Regions from separate parts of the Homo sapiens genome. Here all the other regions are linked to region 7. Evidence: promoter capture Hi-C in 16 types of primary human blood cells and fetal thymus (Javierre and others, 2016). All regions are on one chromosome and are shown on one strand. The core of a region is centred on a gene start or on the middle of the fragment in contact, and the rest is flanking DNA. Distances in the headings are between cores, read along the strand shown. Region 1 has its middle 27 kb from the start of EPHB6. Region 2 holds the start of TRPV6 (transient receptor potential cation channel subfamily V member 6). Region 3 has its middle 26 kb from the start of OR9A2. Region 4 has its middle 34 kb from the start of PRSS2. Region 5 overlaps TRPV5 (transient receptor potential cation channel subfamily V member 5). Region 6 holds the start of TRPV5 (transient receptor potential cation channel subfamily V member 5). Region 7 holds the start of TMEM139 (transmembrane protein 139).

Region 1 (2,728 bases), core at 192-2,691, 460 kb before region 7:
GACAGACAGAGACTCTGTCTAAAAAAAAAAAAAAGAAAGAAAGAAAGGCACAGGTCCACACAAAGACACAAATTTTCATAACAATTTTATTTGTAATAGTCAAAATTTGGAAAAAATCCAATTGCCTATTAATGGGCGAACTAATGCTGAAATTGTCATGTATCCACACAAAGGAAAATTAGCAATAAAAAGAATGAACTATTTAAATTTAAAACAACATAGATAAATCTCAAAATAATATGATGAATAAAAGTAAAGAAACAAAAAAGAGTACATAGTTTATAATTGCATTATATTAAATTCTAGAAAACACAAAGAAATCTATAGTAATAGAAGAAGCACTCTATCAGTGTTTGTCTGGGAACAGCATGGAGAGAAGGATGGAATTATAAAAAGCCACAAGGCTATTCACAATAGCAAAGACATGGAATCAAACCAGGTGCCCATCAATGGTAGATTGGATCAAGAAAATGTGGTACATATACACCATGGAATGGTACGCAGCCATAAAAAAAGAATGAAATTATGTTCTTTGCAGCAAAATGGATGCAGTTGGAGGCCATAATCCTAAGCAAATTAATCCAGGAACGGAAAACCAAATATCGCATGTTATCACTTAAAAGTGGGAACTAAACATTGAGCATACATGGATATAAACAATGGAACAATAGACATTGTGAACTACCAGAAGGGGGAGAGAGACAAGGGGAAGTGTTTTGAAAAACTACCTATCAGGCACTATCTTCTGTACCTGGGTGACAAGATCTGTACTTCAAACCTCAGTACAAACCTCAGTATTAGGCAATATTCCCATGTAACAAATCTGCACATGTTCTCCCTGTATCTAAAATAAAAGTTGAAATTTAAATAAATAAATAAATAGCGGGCCACAGCAAAACTTTTGGAGGTGATGTGTAAGTTCATTACATTAAGTTTTATGATGGTTTCCCAGGTGTTTGCGTATGTCAAAGCTTACCAAATTGTACATTTTAAAGATGTCTATTGTTTGTCAAGTGCATTTTAATAAAGCTGTAAAAGAAAGAATTATTTTTGATACAGTGTTAGGACAACAGAAAACCACTGAGAAAATTTAAGCAAGAGAATGTCAATAATTAATGCCACATTTTAACTAATTAACTGCAATTAATCACAATCAATCAGTAAGAAAAGGTTTTGTGCTGAAGATTTTCCAGAGAGATAAGTAAGCAAGTATATCATGCATGCAGTGGAGCAGGGCAGAGCCTCATAAAATCCCTCTTAAACGTGTCTGTTCTTTTGCCAAATTTCCATTCTGGTTGCCAGCTACCTTTTTCCTCCTCTTTCTTTCCACAGCCACTGCCATCCTCATTATAGCCCCAGACAATTCAGCTCTTGAAAGTGTATCCAGCAAAACAAAAGTGTAACAGCAGCTCAGCACCACTTGGAAAGCAGTTGCATAGCCACCTCTTTCTCTACAAGCTCAGTCCTTCCTGAGGTTGCCCTCTCACCTATTCCCCTACATCAAAAGTGACTCATCAAAGTATTCAGTAGACAAAATTAGTCTCTATCCAGGGAGAATTCACTACTTGGAAAGTAAGATGTTCTGTTTCTCATTACATACAAAAAAAAAAAAAGTTGATAAAATCACAGAATTCAGTTTGAGAGAGAGGAAGATACTAAATGTCATTTGTCATTCTGACCTTGAAGTCACATTGAGTCCAATTCAATCAGAAAAGTGCAAGTGAAAATTTGGATTTTTAATGAGACACCAGGACTAGAAATACTGACTTCAGGGGTCATCCGCAGAGAGAAAATAGTTGAAATGTTTGGAATGGATGAGATCTCCAAAGCAACAAGTGAAGAAAAAGGAACAAAGGTCCAAAAATAAAAACTGTTGAACATCCACACTTATAGGTAAAAGGAGGGGAAAAGTAAGCTTAAGAAATTAAGAAAGTAGTTCTAGAGGGAAGACAAGAAATGGGATGGTATCTTGGAAGTTCAGAGGAGACTGTGGGTACAAAGAGGTGGCAGCAGGATTTAAAAGAACTTTAAAAATTCAGTAAAATTAGGACTGAATGACTTCACCGATGTTGTTGACTAGAGGAGGAGAAAGTAGCAGATTCAGAGCACTCATTTGACAAGTTTAGGGGCAGAGCGAGTAAGGGAGAGGTTAAAGGGAATGGTAGAGTTGAATACAGTCTTTTATTCCAACGTATTTATAGTCTGATTATATAGAAAGCCAAGAGGAAGAACTACATAAAGACAGGAAAATTGAAGATGCTAAAGAAAGAAGATATTTGAGAAACAAAGAGGCATGTGGATTAATTATTGGACATCAAGAAGGGGGAACTTTTTTCCTCTGAAATAGGAAAAGAAGAGAAAATGCGTAAAAGATAGACCTGCACTGAGGAAGGCCAACATACATACAGAAAGAGGCTAGATCTAATGATCGGTTGAATGTAATGTTTTTAAAAACCCACCATTTCACCCATCAGATTGGCATAATTAAAAGAATCAATAGTATCTGATGTTGGCAAGCATGTAGGGAAATAACATGCTCTCATGCACAGCTGGAAAGTAAACTGCAACAGTCTTTATGGAGGGTAATTTGGCAGTGTTTATTGAAACTCCACATGGCCGGGCGCAGGGGCTCACGCCTGTAATCCCAGCATTTTAGGAGGCCAAGGCGGGTGGATCACAAGGTCAAGAGATCGAGACGATCCTGGCCAACATGGTGAAACCCCGTCTC
Region 2 (2,700 bases), core at 101-2,600, 400 kb before region 7:
CAGGCTTTCCTCTATGACCAGACATCTGCCTCCTTCGTGACCCAGGGAAAGCCCCAACAGGCAGGACTTCCTTCTAGCATGCCACCAACTGGGTAGAGAACTCTATTAGAGACCTTGAAGAAGAGACCACATGCAGGGATAGCCCTGAGTTCCGATTCCCTGCTCCTCTCCTGCTCTGTACTCCAAGCTGTCATGGTGAAGAAAGCAGGACACGGGTTTAGGAAGTTTTCAGGGGCTGGAAGCCACCAGTGAATGTCCTTAGGGCTTAAACGCTAGAGTCTCGATTTCCACCACCTGAATGCGGAAGAGCACAGGTCCTCGGAACATCTGTTATTTTGACCCGCTTCCCCTCAGTCCCCACCCGCACTGAGAGAGAAATACACCTCAAGGTTGGGTTTGAGCGTTGTAGGTCTTCATATCCCCCCAGTGCTGGGCAAATAGTAAGGCCTTGGTCAGTGTCTGATGAGACAGATACATAGGAATGGTCACTTTTTTCACATTTTGTCTTATTTTCTGGTTCCTGGTGTCCGCGGTTCTCTCTGCTTCATTCATTCAATCGTTCACTCATTCCTCCATGCGAACATATGTATACTATGTGTTCCTGCCAGAGAGACTGTTCTAGAGGCAAGCAGTGGAGATACAGAAGGCATTGTCCTCACCTGCCGTCCCCTCTTGGGTGGAGGGGCTGTGATGCTCTATCCTTACAAGCCCCAGCAAGACGCCTGGCCCTTAGAGAAGTACTCACAAGAGGCTTGCAGAATCGAATTAGATCTTAAGATAGTGAACACCTGTGCCCATCTCAACCCCATCCTCTTTCACCAGCCCTACAGGCTGAGGCTCTTAAGACAGAATGCTCCCAAGGAGCCAGTCCGGGCCTGGGAGCACCATCTGTCCAGCCAAAGGTGCCAAACAAAGACGGGAGGTGAGGGAGGGGTGAGGGGTAGAGGTGCAGGCCTGGGGAGGTGGGGAAGGGAGCAGACCAAGGGGGCCTTACCTCTTCTGCTGCAGCAGGTTCTGCTCATCTCGGCTCTGGGCCCAGGACTCCCGTCTCTGGAACCATCTGCAGAACTTGCTCCATAGGCAGAGAATTAGCCCTTTCTCCTTGGGCAGTGACAAACCCATGGGGTGTAGGGCCGGCTCCTTGGGGGCCTGAGGCCGAGGCCAGACCCTGACGGGACTCAGCCTTGGGGCCACATCAGCCCCCCCAAGGGCCGGCCCACCGTCTCCCTGTAGAGGTCCCGTCTCCTGTCTCCTGCCTTCCTGACGAGTTCCTTGGGAGTCTCCCAGCAGCCCCAGCCAGTTTGGAGAGGGCTGTGAGTTTGTTACACTTGGCAGAGCCAGCCAGGACTCTGCAGGGCTGGCCTGTCTGGAGCTCCTGCTGGGAGTGAGCAGGAGGAGCCAAAGCTGCACGGACACGCCCTCCCTCCTCCCAAATTACCTGAGATTTAAAGACACAGGCCAGCCACAGACCTGCCTACCAAGGGGGACTTGTGCCAACTCCAATTCTTTCTCCACCCAGGGCTCTCTCCCTGCCCCCAGGCCAGTCACAACCAGGGAGGCCTTCAGAAAGACTGGCGAGGCCTCCCTTGGACGTCAGAACACCCAGTGACCTACCCTGAGAGACTCTAGGCAGTGAGAAAGGAGGGGAGGAGTCAGGGCAGGCCCATTCCCAATGTTGAGGACTCCCAGGAGGGAGCGCCCCACTTTCCCACAGTGCCTCTTCTGCCGACCACCTGCCTCACTCTCTGCCTCCCCCTGCTTATGTCCTGGAGAATTCCATTTTCTGGACTCTTCCAGTTTCATTCTTGCCAGGCCTGAAATAGGTATATAAATTGCGAAGATACTCAGTTCTCCCAGACTTTCCTCTCAGTCCCCATCACCTTTGGGTCAGCAAACTTTTTCTGGAAGGGCTGATAGGAAATGTAAAGATGTTAGGTTTTGCAAGCCATGTACACTCTCTAATGTACGTTATTCTTTGGTTTTGTTTTGGTGGTTGTTTTCTAACCACCCCCAAAGATGTAAAATGCATTCTTCGCTCACCAGCCAGGGCACAAAATCTAGCTCTGGGCAGACCCCCTGCTCAGGAGCTCCACAGACTGTCCACAATGCCCCGTGCATGGGGTGGGTGCCCGATAAAATACAGGACACGTGGTCAAATTTGAATTTTAGATAAACAACAAAGAATTTTTTAGTATAAATATACCCCACGTTTTGCAAGTATTCTATCTGCCAGCCTTCCCGTGGAGGTGACATTCAGCTGCTACTGTGTGCTGGGCCTTTTAACTGAGCGTTCCCAGGTAAACTCGTAACAAACCTGCAAGGCAGGTATTATTATCTACATTGTATTGATGGGAGAAACCAAAGCTCACCATGGTAAAGGAACTCTCCCAAGGCCATAGAGGTGGCAGAGGCAAGATTCACACCCATCCCTCATTCCAAGCCCACTTCTTTCTCCCTAGCACACCTCCTCATTCTAACTGGCCAACAGAGCTTCAGAGAGGTTAAGTGACTCGCACAGTCATACAGAAGAATGATGGCATTAAGCATGGCCCATCGTCTTCCCACAACAAAGAGCTCCATCATGAGCTTGCTGGAAGCTGTCGGAAAGGTCATTTAGTTCAACTTTTCCACTGGAAAGGGGCAGAAGCCCGGGCTTATCCAACCTCCTGGTGCCAGCCAGGTGCCAATAGCCTAGGGGCA
Region 3 (2,700 bases), core at 133-2,632, 280 kb before region 7:
AGAAATCTCTGACCAATTACTCTGGCATTTGGTGATATCTTCAGTTAAGCATTTAAAAATATACTCCAAAACACCACCAACCTGAAATGTGTTATTCCATTTTCCAGAGACTCTAAGTTTTAGACTTAATCATCAAAAGTTTTTATATTTTATTTAAATGTTAGGCATGAAAATCAGTCTTAATAGATTCTATTGAGCATACCTGAATGTCTTCTTGGTTTCTCAAGACGATCATTAGGATGCCACTGTCATATATACATGATCTCAGAGAAGGTTTGCTCCTGCACTAAATGAACAAAAATGTCTTAAGTCCTTTGGTCAGCTTTGTACAGTTGGTTTTTAATTTCTCTCAACATGTCTCTTGATTGAGAGCTAACACACTGCTTGTTGTTTTCAGTAGACCTGTCTTTTCTTATCTCCTTTCTATGAGTAAATCATTTTATCAAGCTTATTTCCAATAAATAAACAAACAGATAAAAGGGACTCTAACAGACTTCCTGTGAGTAAAGTGGCTAAGCTTTATGTGGTTCATGGACTTTGTAACATTTATTTTGTCTGCTTGCTGGTTTATTTTGCTATTTTCTGATTCCTAGCTATGTTCTAGAAAGACTACATAGTTGAGTTTTGGATTAATAAGATATATATGTTAATTATAACACTTAGAGAATCAGGATCATATAGTACCCCAAATACAGATGTTTTTAAAAGTGCCAGAATATCAAAAGAAGATATAACTATATTCAAATATTAAAGCATCAAAGCATAATATACTTCCATGGTTCAAAATTTTAAAGGATACTTTGAAACACTTTTCTATCTGATCCTCCTCCCTCAAGGCAACCAATGTTATCACTTTCTTCTGTGTCTTTACAGAGGTAATTTTAAGCATATACGTCTGCATAAGCAAATGCATACAAGCACATTTTCTTTTTGTACAAATGGTAGTATATCGAACATATGTCCTATGCAGTACAGATCATTGTATATTTATACATAAGACATTCTTGGTTCTTGTTTCCTTTTTTAATAACTCCAGATTATTCCACCAAATGGAATACATACATTATTTCCCTGTACACAATATCTAAATGACAATTTCTAGAAGAGGAATTGCTAGGCCAAAGCGTAAAAGCATTTGTCACTTTAATATATATTACATAATTGCCCTTCATGCAGGCTATTACATTTTACACTACCTATTTTCACGCAGTGTACTATAAAACTTTTTGACATTTGCCAGTTTAATAACTGAAAATAGTATCTTAATATGGCTTTAATTTTTATTGTTCTCCTTATGAATGAAGATGAAAATATTCTCACATGTGCTTATCTTTTGCCCATTTTTCTGCTGAGTAGTTTTATTTTTTTCTTATAGGAGCTTTTTACACATGATGCAAACTAACCTTTTGTGATATGAGTTGAAATTGTTTTCTGGTGTTTTCGTGTGTCTGTTTACCTTGGGGTAGTATTAACCATAGCAAATTTTTAAAAAATTCTTCATAAAGTCAATCTTCTATGACATCTGTGTTTTAAGTCATCCTAAGAAAGGTCTTACCCATTTTTATAAACATTCTTTTATTTCTTATGTTAAATCTATGTTTTTTTTTTACATTTAAATATTTGACCCATTTTAAACAGCCTGGTATGACATAGGCAGTAATGGAATTAACTTTTGTTTTTTAGGTAGCTGCTAGTTTGTTTGACCATTTATTGAATAATTCATTTTTTCCCAATGATAGTACTGTTTACATTATAGCTATATAGTCTGTTTTACAGATGTAGTTATTCCTCATTATGCTTCTATTTCAGAATGTTTTTGAAAATTTTTTGCTTGTTTATTTTTCCATAATAAAAAGTTTAATCTAAGCTGGGCACGATGGCTCACATGTGTAATCCCAGCTATTCAGGCGGCTGAGGTGGGAGGATCACTTGAGTCCAGCAGTTCAAGTCTGTAGTGAGCTATGATCATGCCACTACACTCCAGCCTGGCTGACAGAGCAAGACTCTGTCTCTAAAAATATAAATGAATGAAATAATGCATGAATAAAATGTAATCTGCTTCTCTAGATTTAAAAAATACTATTGATTTTTAAATTGTGATTGTATCATTTTTATGGATACACTTAGAGGAGAATTGATATCTTTGTATTGTTTACTCCACCTTTCCATTTGCTCAAATCTACTTTTGTGTCTTTCAGGAGCATTTTTTTAAATGTCAATCTAGTTTAAATGTAAATCTTTACTTGTTAAGCTTATTCCTAATAATGTTATATTTCTTTGCTTTTGCTTTTGTAAATGAGGTTCTTTCCTTCCATTATATTTTCTAACTTAATGTGTTTTATATGTGAAGTCTTTTGACTCTCAATATAAATTTTGTGCCCAGCCACATTGGTTTTTTACTTTATTTTGTTGAGATTTCCAGATAAACAAATTATTTAAAATTCATGTTAATCTTTTTTTCTCCTCCTTTTTAACATCTTGGCCCTGCATTTTTTTTCTCTTGTCTAATTGCATAGGCTAACATGCCAGAAATTTTAATTAGTTTACATAGAGATGCAGTACATAAATTTAAATTGAAGATCTGTCATTACATAAGACAAAGGGTATGTGTGTTATTATTTATTTTAGATTGGTCCATCCTCTCACCAGGAGCTCAGGCAGCTGTTAAACTCTGGAAAGAGGGCCTAAAAAAGATAGGGG
Region 4 (2,735 bases), core at 48-2,547, 480 kb before region 7:
TTTGATGGATGGAAACCAAACCACTCCAAACACAAGGTGTTAACTGCTCCTACTTGGGCAAAGACAGTTATCCTGTCAAGGTAAATTCTGCATACAGGCTGAATGCATTGTGGTAAAACACTACATGGAGGAAGAGGAGGAATGGGATTAAAGAAAAGGAGGCCTAGAACAGTGAGAGGGGCTGAGAGAGGCCATGTCGAAGTTAGTTGAGGAAGACTGTCAGGGGAGAGAAGAGAAGTCTGAAAGCAGAGAAAGGTTGGGAAAGAGGAGGGAGCCCTTTGTTGAGAGCCTGCTTGCTTCAGGCCTCAGGCTGGACGCTGCTACCTGTGCTGTCTGCATCTGCACAATGATCCCAGGAACAGGTATTATTTTCCCCATGTTATAGATGTGGAAACTGAAGATTACAGTTCAAATTACTTATGAGTTGTGAAACCGTGGCATGTTCTGCTGAAGATGGCAATTCTGGAAACTTTTTCCAAGTAGTTACCAGGATGGTGGGATTGCTCCTGGTATCTGGGTGATCCTAGAGCAGCTTCTCCCAAACTCCAGGCAGGGCCCATGGTAACACACTGAAGACACCTTAATGCCTTGGTGTCTTTGTTTCCCACGGCTGCCGTAACAAAGTACCACTGGTGGGTTTAAAACAATAAAAACTTATTCTCTCACAGTTCTGGAGGCTAAAGATACAACACCAAGATGTCAGCGGGTCATCCTGTATGACAGCTCTAGGGGAGAATCCTTTCCTGCTTCTTCCCATGTCTGATGGCTTCTGGCACTCCTTGGCTTGTGCCAGCATCGCAGCAATCTCTGCCTCTGTCTTCACATGGCATTTTCCCTGTGTCTCTGCATTTAAGCTCCCCTCTCCTTTCTCTTTTCAAGGCATGGTCTTAGGATTTAGGGCCCACCCTAAATCCAGAACAATTTTATTGAGAGATCTTAACAAATTATACCTGCCAAGTCCCTATTTCCAAATAAGGTCACATTCTGAGTTTCTGAGTGGGCATGAATTCTGGGGGAACACTCTTCTTCCCACTACACTGGGGATCTTGGAACTGGAGAAGAGGGTTCTCTGGTGGCAGCTTGCAAAGACCAGGAAAGGATGTGCTCACAGCAGGGATGGGGCCCAGGAAACTCATCACATGCCGGTCATTTCCATCAGTCGTAACTATCTCTAGACTGCTCAAAATGCAGTATAGTATTTTGTTGGCTATTGTTGTTACATATGTGCTGGTTTGTTTTTATATTGGCTAAAAAAAAGCCTAAAACAAAGGGGACAGGCTTTAGGCCCTAGACCAACATTCATGCTTCCCACTCCTTAGACCTGCGTGGAGGCAGCAGGCATATCCTTGTGGCTCCTCGCAAAGGTAGGACAGGAGGATGAGCAGCCGAGGGAACAAGGAAGCACTTCAGAGAGAGCAGAACTGTGGGGGCCAGAGGGCGCAGGCTAGGACTGGGGATATTGGAGGATAGTGGTTTGTGTGGGCAGAGCTGTGAGGGGCTGAGCAGCTGTAGTGCAAGATTAGAGTGGAGGTGGGAAGGGGGAAACACCTTGTAGAAGAAAGATAGTGTCTGTTAGTTTGATGGCCATCATCTTGGGGACGTGGAAAACGGAGGCATTAGCAGGTGGGAGGATGTGGGAGGAGTTTCTTGTTAGTACCCTAGAGTTTGCAATCAGACCCAGGTGAATGAATTCTCCTCTGGAGGATAAAAGGCCATGTGAATTTTACCCTCTCAGTCCAGGGGACTTGACAGAGATGGAGAGAGCTTCAAGCTCCATCTGGTCCTCCCAACACCCTACTTGACCCAGGGCAGGTTCCTCTTCCCAAGTTTTTACAGCCATTTCCTTGTCTCTCTCAAACAACACCCCCAACATTCAGCACGCATGCACTGGGAAGTGAATCTCTTCTGCCTCTACCTGCCTTTTTCTCTAGAATCGAAGTGGATTCTTCTGGGCCAATTCTGGGCATCCTCTCCATTCTTCCTCAGGTAACACTGAGAAAAGATGAGTTCGATGTAGGGCAATAATATAACTTACTGTAAGAATTGAGATACCATTGAAAATGAAAGGGGCCCATTGGCCACATGGGATGCTGGAACAAGAGGAGTAAACCAGGAATGGTCACAAGGCCCCTCCAGTGGAGAGGCTCTGAGGGAGTTTCTGGGTGCAGCATTATTCCTGCAAAGGGAGGTACTAAAGGGACTCCACACCAACCTGGACTTGTTGACTGGTTCAAACCTCAGGGCTGACCTAAGCATCATCCTATGAAGAAACCATGTGGACAGAATATAGGGCAAGGCAGGGACAACAGCATCCAACACAGGTGACACCCAGTGCAGAGCAAAGCATGCTTACTTATTGAAAAGAGTTACAAGAAAAGCATCTCTGGAAGAATGTCTAGGGTACCCCAAGTTCTCGCTGAACTTAGCATGGAGTAGCTCTTAAAGAGAAGAACTTCACCTGTGACCTTTACAGATTTATTTGGGAAATTGGAAGAAAAAGGGGGTCATCCAAATGGTTGTGTAATAAAATAACTTCTTTGTGGGGGAAATGGGATTCCCGTGAGCATCCCAGAGCCCCAGTCACCATCACTTCCTGAGAGGAAGAATCTTCCCATCAGCACCAGTATCCATAGAGATTTTCCTACTACTAGGCTCATTGCTGGGCCACATAAGGTTGGGGAGTGGGGATGGTCGGGAGCTGCTGGGACAATCCAAGAGAAAAAGGCTTTTTCTCT
Region 5 (2,700 bases), core at 153-2,652, 380 kb before region 7:
TGCACACCTGTAGTGCCACCTACTTGGGAGGCTGATGGGGGAAGATTACTTGAGCCCAGGAGGTCGAAGCTGCAGTAAGCAGTGATCACACCACTGTACTTCAGCATGGGCAACAGAGCAAGACCCTGTCTCAAGAAAAAAAAAAAAGGACTACAGAAGCAGAATTTTAAAGTGCTTCTACTATGAAGAGAATAAAGAAGAATGATGGTGACTGAGCAGTTTTACATACCCTGCCACCACTGTGTCCCAGTGTGTGCGGGCGTGTGTATACACATTGTGCAATCCCTCACTGCTGGGCACTCAGCCCTGGGCTGGTGTATCTGAATTAACTGTCTGTGGTTTCACAAATACCACTTACTTCTTTGTTATCCCAGACCACAGTCCTTTGAAAAGCTGACATGGCTTTTTGCTAAGGGTGATGATGGGGCTGGGATTAGAAGTATAGTGCTGGAGACACAAGAGAGGCTGACCATGAGCACCTATAATGGGTGCCCTGGACACATGATTCCTAATTTCCCTCCTGGAGAGGGATGACCCTTCCTCTATTGTTGCTGTTCCTTTCACAACTCAGTGTGGGGCAAAGGGAGATGGGAATGGAGGATGGCTATGTCAGGAGAACAAGCAGGAGCCTGTTGCCTCCAGGCACAAGGATGATTAGCTGCTAGGGACAGAGCAGGAGGGTCCTGGAAAAGAAATGATTAGGCCATTCAAATATAGGCCTAATTTACCATACATTCTTAAAAACACACCAGGATGCAAACACTTCAGACTGTGAGCCTCAAAAAGCAAAGATAAGGCAATTCAACAACAACAAAAACCTAATTCGAAAATGGACAAATAAACTGAAAAGACATTTCTCCAAAGAAGGTATATAAACATCCAATAAATAGGTGTATAAAAACGTGCTCAGTATCATTAGTCATTAGGGAAAGGCAAATCAAAACTACAATGTGAAGCCACTTCACACCCATTAGAAGGGAATGTAAAATGGTGAAAGCTATTGTGAAAACCAGTATGGCAGTTCCTCATAAAACTAAACATAAGAATTGTCTAGCAATTCCATTTTTAGGTGTATGCCCAAAGTATCTGAAAATAGAAACTAGAACAGATATTTGTATACCATATTGATAGCAGCATTATTCACAACGGCCAAAAGGTAGAAAAAACTCAAATGTCCATTGGTAGATGAATAAATAAACAAACTGTGTCAAATTTTGGACTAAGATTGCAGAATCCCACTTACATAAGATACCTAGAATAGTTAAATTCATAGACAGAAAGCAGAATATTGGTTATCAGGGACCAGGGCAGAGAGATAGCTGGAGAGTTATTGTTCAATGGGGATTAGAGTTTCAGTTCCGAATGATGAAAAAGTTCCATAAATGAATAATGGTGATGGTTACACAACAATGTGAATGTACTTAATGCCACTGAATGGCACATCTGAAAATGGATAATATGGTAAATTTTATGTGACATGTATTGTGCCACAGTAAAAAATTAAAGAAGGCAAGAATAAGGAGACTTTTTTATTGCAGTTGGTGTTTGCTTGCTAAGTGGAGAGAGAGACCTACAGGAGGCTGGGAAAAAAAGAAGGGCCACAACCTCTATGCCATGCCTGGCTCTTCCCACGTAAGCCCTGGGGAGCCAGAAAAGCCTCACAGCTTACTACTTTCTAGGGGCTGCGTGGGGCAGAAGAGAAATGGTCCTGACATTAATCTAGCATCCCTGCCTCATGTCTTTAGTTGCCAACCTCCTTTTTCCTGAGATGGGTGACTTGCAAGAGCCCAGAAAATACGTGAGACAATCGATGACCATTGCCCATTGCCAGAAATTCTGATGTGAAGTGTGAGGCATGACCCTTTAGGGATTGTTCTGTCTCACCCTCCCATGATTAACAGGCACAGAAGTTAGACACTTGCATAGGCAGAGGTCTCCGTCTCTGTCCCCGCCCCCAGGCCAACCGGGAGTAAGGTCAAGAGTGATAGCGATGTTAATCAAAAATGGTAGACCTCCTCTCCATCCCCCTCACTAAGGTTCAGTCCAAGATTCAAGTGCCCCAGGGTGTTTTGACGAAGGATCTCCCAGCCTCGGTGACTGCTGCTCTGGGACGCGGTCCGGGACAGGGAGGAAGTTGGAAGAGCCAAAGAGGCTCTGGCTAGAGTCCCACTCTCAGCCCCAGAGGGCTGTTTCTCAGATGGATGCTCCTGGTCATCCTCCTTGTCTGAGTTCTTGAACACTTCCACATAGCGAAGCACTCGCAGAGGATTCTGATCATTGTGGTTCTCAACCCTGATAAGGGGAAAGGGGAAAGGACTCAATCCAGGTGGGGAGACATGGGCAGGGGAGAAGTAGAGGTGACCATTTAGAAAGCAGGGTCAAGAGGGAAGCAGAAATAAGGCAGCAGAGTTGAAACAGGAAGAGTATCTGGGATCAAGTGAAGGGAGGTGATGGAGGGCAGGCTAACCTGGGATAGAGATAATGGAGGCTGAGCAATCAGGGCTTGCAGGGTGGTAGGACGCACACAGGTGTGTGTGTGTTTGTGTGTTACTAATACGTAGGAATGTGAAAGAGAAAACAGAGCCAACTAATAGATAAGCGTGTCACAAGGATGACGAGATGCAATTCAGGAAGTAAATTTGAGGAGAGAGGAGAGTCACGCCGGGAGATGAGGGCAGAATATGAAGGAGGAAGTTAGAT
Region 6 (2,700 bases), core at 119-2,618, 350 kb before region 7:
TTATTTAGATACAGGTCCCTGCAGGGGGTGGAGAGTTGTGGGGTGAGTTACAGGGTGCCTCTTTCTTCTGCATTATACCCTTAGATGCAAAGGTCTAAACAGCTTGTTTATGTGGGTGTCTCAAGGCAAAACAGGTTGAGATACTCATTCTACAGGACCTCTGTTAATCTTTGCTTCTACCATACCCAGATTTGAACCCAGAAAGAGATAAAGCTGGAGCCTCTCCAACTAGACATATGTGTATTGGCCCCAAAGGCAAGCACATGGTGTAGGGGGAAGAACAGAAAGGACAGGCCGATGAGTGGCTCCTCTGAGGTCCCCACCTCCAAATCCCTCTCTTCCAATAGCCCCAGGAGCCAGGGCGAAAAAGTGTTTTTATTTTATTTATTTATTTTTTTTGAGACGAAGTCTCACTCTATTGCCCAGACTGGAGTGCAGTGGTGCGATCTCGGCTCACTGCAACTTCCGCCTCCTGGGTTCAAGTGATTCTCCTGCCTCAGCCTCCCGAGTAGCTGGGACTACAGGTGCCCACCACCATGCCTGACTAGTTTTTTTATTTTTGGTAGAGACGGGGTTTCAGCATGTTGGCCAGGCTGCTCTCGAACTCCTGACCTCAGGTGATCCACCCATCTCGGCCTCCCAAAGTGCTGGGATTACAGGTGTGAGCCACCACGCCCAGCCAAAGTGTTTTCATTTAAAGAAGAAGCTTTTAATCTAAAGGTGGGGCCTGGTTTTACCTGTTAAGGCAGTGCTCCTAGGAGGGGCCTTTGTGAGGAGTCAGTTCCCTGCCCCGTCTCACCCAGGGAATCAGTCCCAGGGAGCCTGGTGTCCCTGACCAGCCTAGAGTGGTCAGGGCTGAGATTGCAAATTCACCCCCATCCTGAGGCCACTGCACAAACAAAGTCCTTGCCTCCCTGGCCCTCTATCCCCACTGCCCCTCTGCAGAGGGTCCAAGTTGGGGCTGGAAGCTCACTTTCTCAGAGACCCAGGGGTCCCACTCTAAAGCAGGAAGGTGAGATTCCACTGGAGGTATTGGGTGGGGAGATGAGGAAGCAGAGGGCTTGACAGTATGAGGGCTCAGAGGTACTTGGGACCAGGCCCAGTGTAAACTGCAAATGCAGGACCCCTTGTTCAAAATTATTAAGAACTTGAAGATGAGGACAGCAGGGCATTGAACAAAGCACAGGAATCTTCTGGAGTACAGGGGAGCCCTTTGTGACTGCTAATGTCTGCTCAACAACCTCACCCCTCAGGCAGCTGTTGGGTGGGAGGCAAGCCCCAAAACACTTGGAGGAAGAAGCAGCCCACAGGATTCGTCCCTGCCCCAGCTGCTCTTCCTGGGACTGGACCTCAGGGCTAAGCCATGAAATGATTTACCTGCAGGTGTGCTAGCCCTGCCCGAACTAAGAGCTCTCCAGGAGCAGGCACAAGTCTCATTCAATCTTTATGTCATTGGGATCTAACACCCCTCTGCACACAGTAGACTCAATAAAAGGCAGATGGACTGAACTCAGAGCCCTCCAGTGTCACCTGAGCTGCCCTCCTCCACTGGTCAGCACCCAGTGTTACACCAAACAAAGCGCTCCTCCCCTTTCCCACACAGTCCACTTTCATTCAAATGAATGGCGTTTCCTTATCGTGCTTCCACCACCCACAGGAGTGCATCCCTTCTTCAGCAGCCTGCTTCTGCCTTCCCTCCCCATCCCACACAACCTGGCTTCTTCCCTCTGGTCCTTTTTGGTCCTTTCACTCCCCCTTGGCTGTCATTCTGCCTCTGTCCTTAGGTCTACCCTCAAGATTTTCCTGTGTGGCCCAAAGCCACATCCTCCACCGCCACTAAAAGGGGCCAGCTGGGATTCTGTAATTAGGTGGGCTGGAAGGAAAGGGTATGTCTGAGTGACTGGCACTGACAATACACTTCTAGGGTGCTGTATTCGGAAAGCAGGCCCAGGTGGGTCAGAGGGTCTGAGGATCACGGCGGTAGGGCCACGGATCGTTCTAGGAAGCCTACCTCTTCTGCTGCAGCATATGAAGCTTGTCCAGGTGCTGGTCCCAGTCTTGTTCTCTGACCAGAAAGGAGGGCAGAAGTTTCTGGAGTTGGCTCCCGGGCCCTTCTGCCTTAGGTAGAAAACCCCCCATGTCTTCTCCTTGCAGACACTGGCAGATTATAGAAATGTGGCGAAAGAAACAGGTCTAGGATGACAGCAACTGAGCAAGAGATGGGGTCTATTTGGGGCTGGGACTCTGAGTTTATCTCCTGTATGACTTGTGTATGCAGCATGCAGCTTGTAGGTGTGTGTGTGTGCATGCAGTATGTGGGTTGTGGGGTGTGCGTGTATGCACAGTGTGTGGCTGTGGTGTATGTGTGTGCATGCAGTGTGTGGTTGTGAGGTGGTGTGTGTGCATGCAGGTGCGCTGAGGGGACTGACCGCCCTGCCTGGGGAGAAGTGCTTTTCCTGGAGGGGGAGGAGCTCTTTGCAGAGCTGAGCCCCACAGCCACAGAACCACCCTGGGGAAGAAAAGGAGGAGGGGAAGGAAGGTTCCTAACTGTGGGCTGGGATGGCTGAGACCCGAGAAGCTAAGAGGTGGGGCAGAGGAATTTGGAAAAAGAAAAGGGATGGAAGGTGGGTCCACAAACAAGGTGCACAGTTAGTTGCATGAGGGAGAGGAGGAAATAAAGACTTCCAGCTCAAGAGTCAG
Region 7 (2,700 bases), core at 201-2,700:
CTTCCCATTCCCACAACTCACTCCTTAACAAACCCCCTTTCCTATCACACACACCAATGACCCTTGGCCAATTTCCTTCTATTCATATGTTAACTGTAGACTGCAGTCCTGATTCCAGCTGTACTTTCCCCTTATGAGCAGAACAGTGAGGAAATTGGCTGAAACAGAACAACAATCAGCCCCCCTCACTCCTGTGCCTACTTTGCATAGAGACACACCTCATTTAGACTCCCACAGCCTTCCTGTTAATGTCTCCTTCCTCTCTCTGCTATCGATCTGGGGCTCTGGGACAGAGAATCTTCAATATCCCACCAGTGCCCACACTTATTACCACTACAGACACAGTTATTCTCATTCCCATACTCTCTCTCTCTCTCTCTCACACACACACACACACACACACCCTCTCCTATGCTTCCCCACCCCAGCTGTCCCTGGGGAGCCTGGATTGGATTTGTGCCCACGGTCTGCAGCTTCCCTCGGTCTGTCTGCTGGTCACCCTCTGAAGGAACGGGGCCCAGTTTTGTTCACCCTCTGGCTCAAGGACCAAGTATGCTTCTACTCACTCTCTACCTCCAAGCACCTACCCTACTCCGACTTAACTGCCTGACCCACAACTAAAAAGAACAGCTCTTTGATCTTCACAGGTGTGGTGAGGCCTGGTGAGAGGGGAGCCTTCTAGTTAGTGACCTACCACGTTTCAGGAACCATGTTAGTTTCCAGGATTCAGAGATGATTAAAACTAATCACGCACCTTGAGAAACTCACAGTGGAAGGAAAATCAGTAAGCAGAAAAATGCTACATAACCAGGTAAATGCTGGGACAAATTTAGGAAGGAACGATGTGGATACACTGGAGCAGGCTCCAAAGCAGCATCACCTCGGAGGAGGATCTTGAAGACTCAAGAGTTAACTGGGTCAAGAAATATACACACTAACACTTCTGACAGGTCTGCAGAATACAGGGAGTCCATAAAAATAGCACTTGGGTAATGGAAGCAGGACACACCATTCCATGCCCACAGCATTACTTTCTGTGTGCAGTGCACTGTGTGATGATCTACAGAGATTAAATAAGCCGAGGTCTCCGCTTCCAGTCACTTGGGAGAGACGCACAAGGTAAATTACCCAAATAGAAGGCAAACTGCCCAGGGCTGTAATTAACATACAATATGCGCCGAGAGGGAAAGGTTAATGCTAACTCCGGTCCTAAGTACAAAGATCATTGGGAGTCAGGGGTGCACTCTCATTAGGGTACAGCATGGGTGGGTGGAGAGAGTAAAAACCAGAACAAATCAAGGTTCAGCAGTTGGAAGTCAGCCTTAGGGAGAAAAGGGGCGGAGACTGACTGGGCCAGAACAGGGATTGGGACAGAAAAAGAGGGTGGGGCCAGTGGGCTCCACCTACCCGCTCCGGCCCTTCCCACCACCCCCCACCCCATCTACTTTCTACAGTCTGTGGAGACAGGTGAGCGACGAACTTCTGAGACAGGTGTGGGTGCGAGGGTCGGGAGGGTCATGGGATTGGGACCGAGGTGTGAGGAGGGAATCTGCAATTCCTTGCTACACAGAGCGCTGGCAACTTCTGACAGGCTGTTTCTGGGGTATGGGCTGCCTCGGGTTGTTGCTGTTACAAGGAAAGAAAAGAGTTCCCCTGCCCACCGCCTCCCAGCCACTGGGCTACCTCCTGGCAGGAAATTTGCAAACTGAGTTTAACAAGTTAGGATCAGCAGAGGGTAGAGGAGGGCCCTGGCAGATGTGGGGTCTAGAAGAGGACAGGAGTTATCAGGGCCTCCGGCCATTGTGCTGGGCCTTTGCCTGTACAATTGTTTCTCAAGCAGTTGTGTCCCTGTGGCTTTGGTGCGCCTGTGTGCACTTTCTCCCTCCACCTGGAGCATGGGCTAACACCGGAGGAAAGGAAAAGACAGAGTCAGACAGGGTAAGTGGGGCTCCCTCCCCTCTTCTCTCTAACGGGGCTGGATTGAGGGCCTCTGGCTGGGGAGGTGGGGGTGGAGATCCAGTAGGAGCAATAACAGAGGAAGGGCAGGGCCTGCCCCATCACCTGAATTCCAGAGATGCCAGTGTGCACTGAAGCCCCAGGCAGGGCGTGCCCAGGACCGGATCCTGGATGGTGGTAAGGGACAAAGCTGGAAGGGAGACTACAGGGAAGGAGAAAGGAAAGAAGGCAGAGCCATGACACAGTCAACTTACAGAATGGCTGGGAGTCAAAGCTCCTGGGCTGGTTTCCTGGCTATTCCACACACTCCAAGACATAGAGAGAATTTCGGAACTGGAGGGGACTCTACAGATGATTTATTTGAGATTGAAGAACCTAGAAACCAAACAAAGAAATATCATATGGTTACTTTGGTATCTGACACAGCCATGACACCAATTGCTAGTGTAGACACAATAGCTGTGTGTCTTTTTGCAGGAGCCTGGGGAGGGGCCATGGTGCCAATGCACTTACTGGGGAGACTGGAGAAGCCGCTTCTCCTCCTGTGCTGCGCCTCCTTCCTACTGGGGCTGGCTTTGCTGGGCATAAAGACGGACATCACCCCCGTTGCTTATTTCTTTCTCACATTGGGTGGCTTCTTCTTGTTTGCCTATCTCCTGGTCCGGTTTCTGGAATGGGGGCTTCGGTCCCAGCTCCAATCAATGCAGACTGAGAGCCCAGGGCCCTCAGGCAATGCACGGTGAG

What was found. Contacts are between HindIII fragments. The CHiCAGO score rates a contact against its expected background, and 5 or more counts as called.
Region 1: a contact is called between a fragment that was not itself captured here and the fragment with the promoter of TMEM139 in region 7, in 3 of 17 cell types (naive CD8 T cells, total CD4 T cells and non-activated CD4 T cells). The highest score is 5.9, in naive CD8 T cells.
Region 2: a contact is called between the fragment with the promoter of TRPV6 here and the fragment with the promoter of TMEM139 in region 7, in 1 of 17 cell types (neutrophils). The highest score is 5.2, in neutrophils.
Region 3: a contact is called between a fragment that was not itself captured here and the fragment with the promoter of TMEM139 in region 7, in 1 of 17 cell types (neutrophils). The highest score is 5.4, in neutrophils.
Region 4: a contact is called between a fragment that was not itself captured here and the fragment with the promoter of TMEM139 in region 7, in 1 of 17 cell types (activated CD4 T cells). The highest score is 7.0, in activated CD4 T cells.
Region 5: a fragment that was not itself captured here is called in contact with the fragment with the promoter of TMEM139 in region 7 in 1 of 17 cell types (neutrophils); the score reaches 6.4 in neutrophils.
Region 6: a contact is called between a fragment that was not itself captured here and the fragment with the promoter of TMEM139 in region 7, in 1 of 17 cell types (neutrophils). The highest score is 5.3, in neutrophils.

What each region holds. Positions count from the first base shown.
Region 1 is chr7:142,826,850-142,829,577 of GRCh38, forward strand. No RefSeq gene overlaps it. Among named protein-coding and RNA genes, the nearest start is that of EPHB6, 27 kb to the right of the region's middle. The HindIII fragment of the contact is 944 bases long and covers 970-1,913 here.
Region 2 is chr7:142,884,395-142,887,094 of GRCh38, forward strand. It overlaps TRPV6 (transient receptor potential cation channel subfamily V member 6), which reads right to left and starts at 1,351. Exons shown (of 15, transcript NM_018646.6): 1 at 995-1,351. The coding sequence starts at 1,242. The HindIII fragment of the contact is 18,692 bases long and covers 1-2,700 here.
Region 3 is chr7:142,999,495-143,002,194 of GRCh38, forward strand. No RefSeq gene overlaps it. Among named protein-coding and RNA genes, the nearest start is that of OR9A2, 26 kb to the right of the region's middle. The HindIII fragment of the contact is 1,734 bases long and covers 516-2,249 here.
Region 4 is chr7:142,803,364-142,806,098 of GRCh38, forward strand. It overlaps TRB. Among named protein-coding and RNA genes, the nearest start is that of PRSS2, 34 kb to the left of the region's middle. RefSeq lists a cis regulatory region at 1,340-1,741. The HindIII fragment of the contact is 5,985 bases long and covers 1-2,735 here.
Region 5 is chr7:142,906,517-142,909,216 of GRCh38, forward strand. It overlaps TRPV5 (transient receptor potential cation channel subfamily V member 5), which reads right to left. Exons shown (of 15, transcript NM_019841.7): 15 at 1,585-2,292. The coding sequence ends at 1,998. Among named protein-coding and RNA genes, the nearest start is that of TRPV6, 22 kb to the left of the region's middle. The HindIII fragment of the contact is 4,444 bases long and covers 1-2,700 here.
Region 6 is chr7:142,931,321-142,934,020 of GRCh38, forward strand. It overlaps TRPV5 (transient receptor potential cation channel subfamily V member 5), which reads right to left and starts at 2,426. Exons shown (of 15, transcript NM_019841.7): 1 at 2,012-2,426. The coding sequence starts at 2,139. The HindIII fragment of the contact is 1,328 bases long and covers 705-2,032 here.
Region 7 is chr7:143,283,508-143,286,207 of GRCh38, forward strand. TMEM139 (transmembrane protein 139) reads left to right here and starts at 1,451. Exons shown (of 3, transcript NM_001282876.2): 1 at 1,451-1,938; 2 at 2,434-2,695. The coding sequence starts at 2,451. It overlaps TMEM139-AS1 (TMEM139 antisense RNA 1), which reads right to left. Exons shown (of 3, transcript NR_133932.1): 1 at 2,470-2,700; 2 at 2,211-2,331. RefSeq lists an enhancer at 1,477-2,676. The HindIII fragment of the contact is 11,639 bases long and covers 1-2,700 here.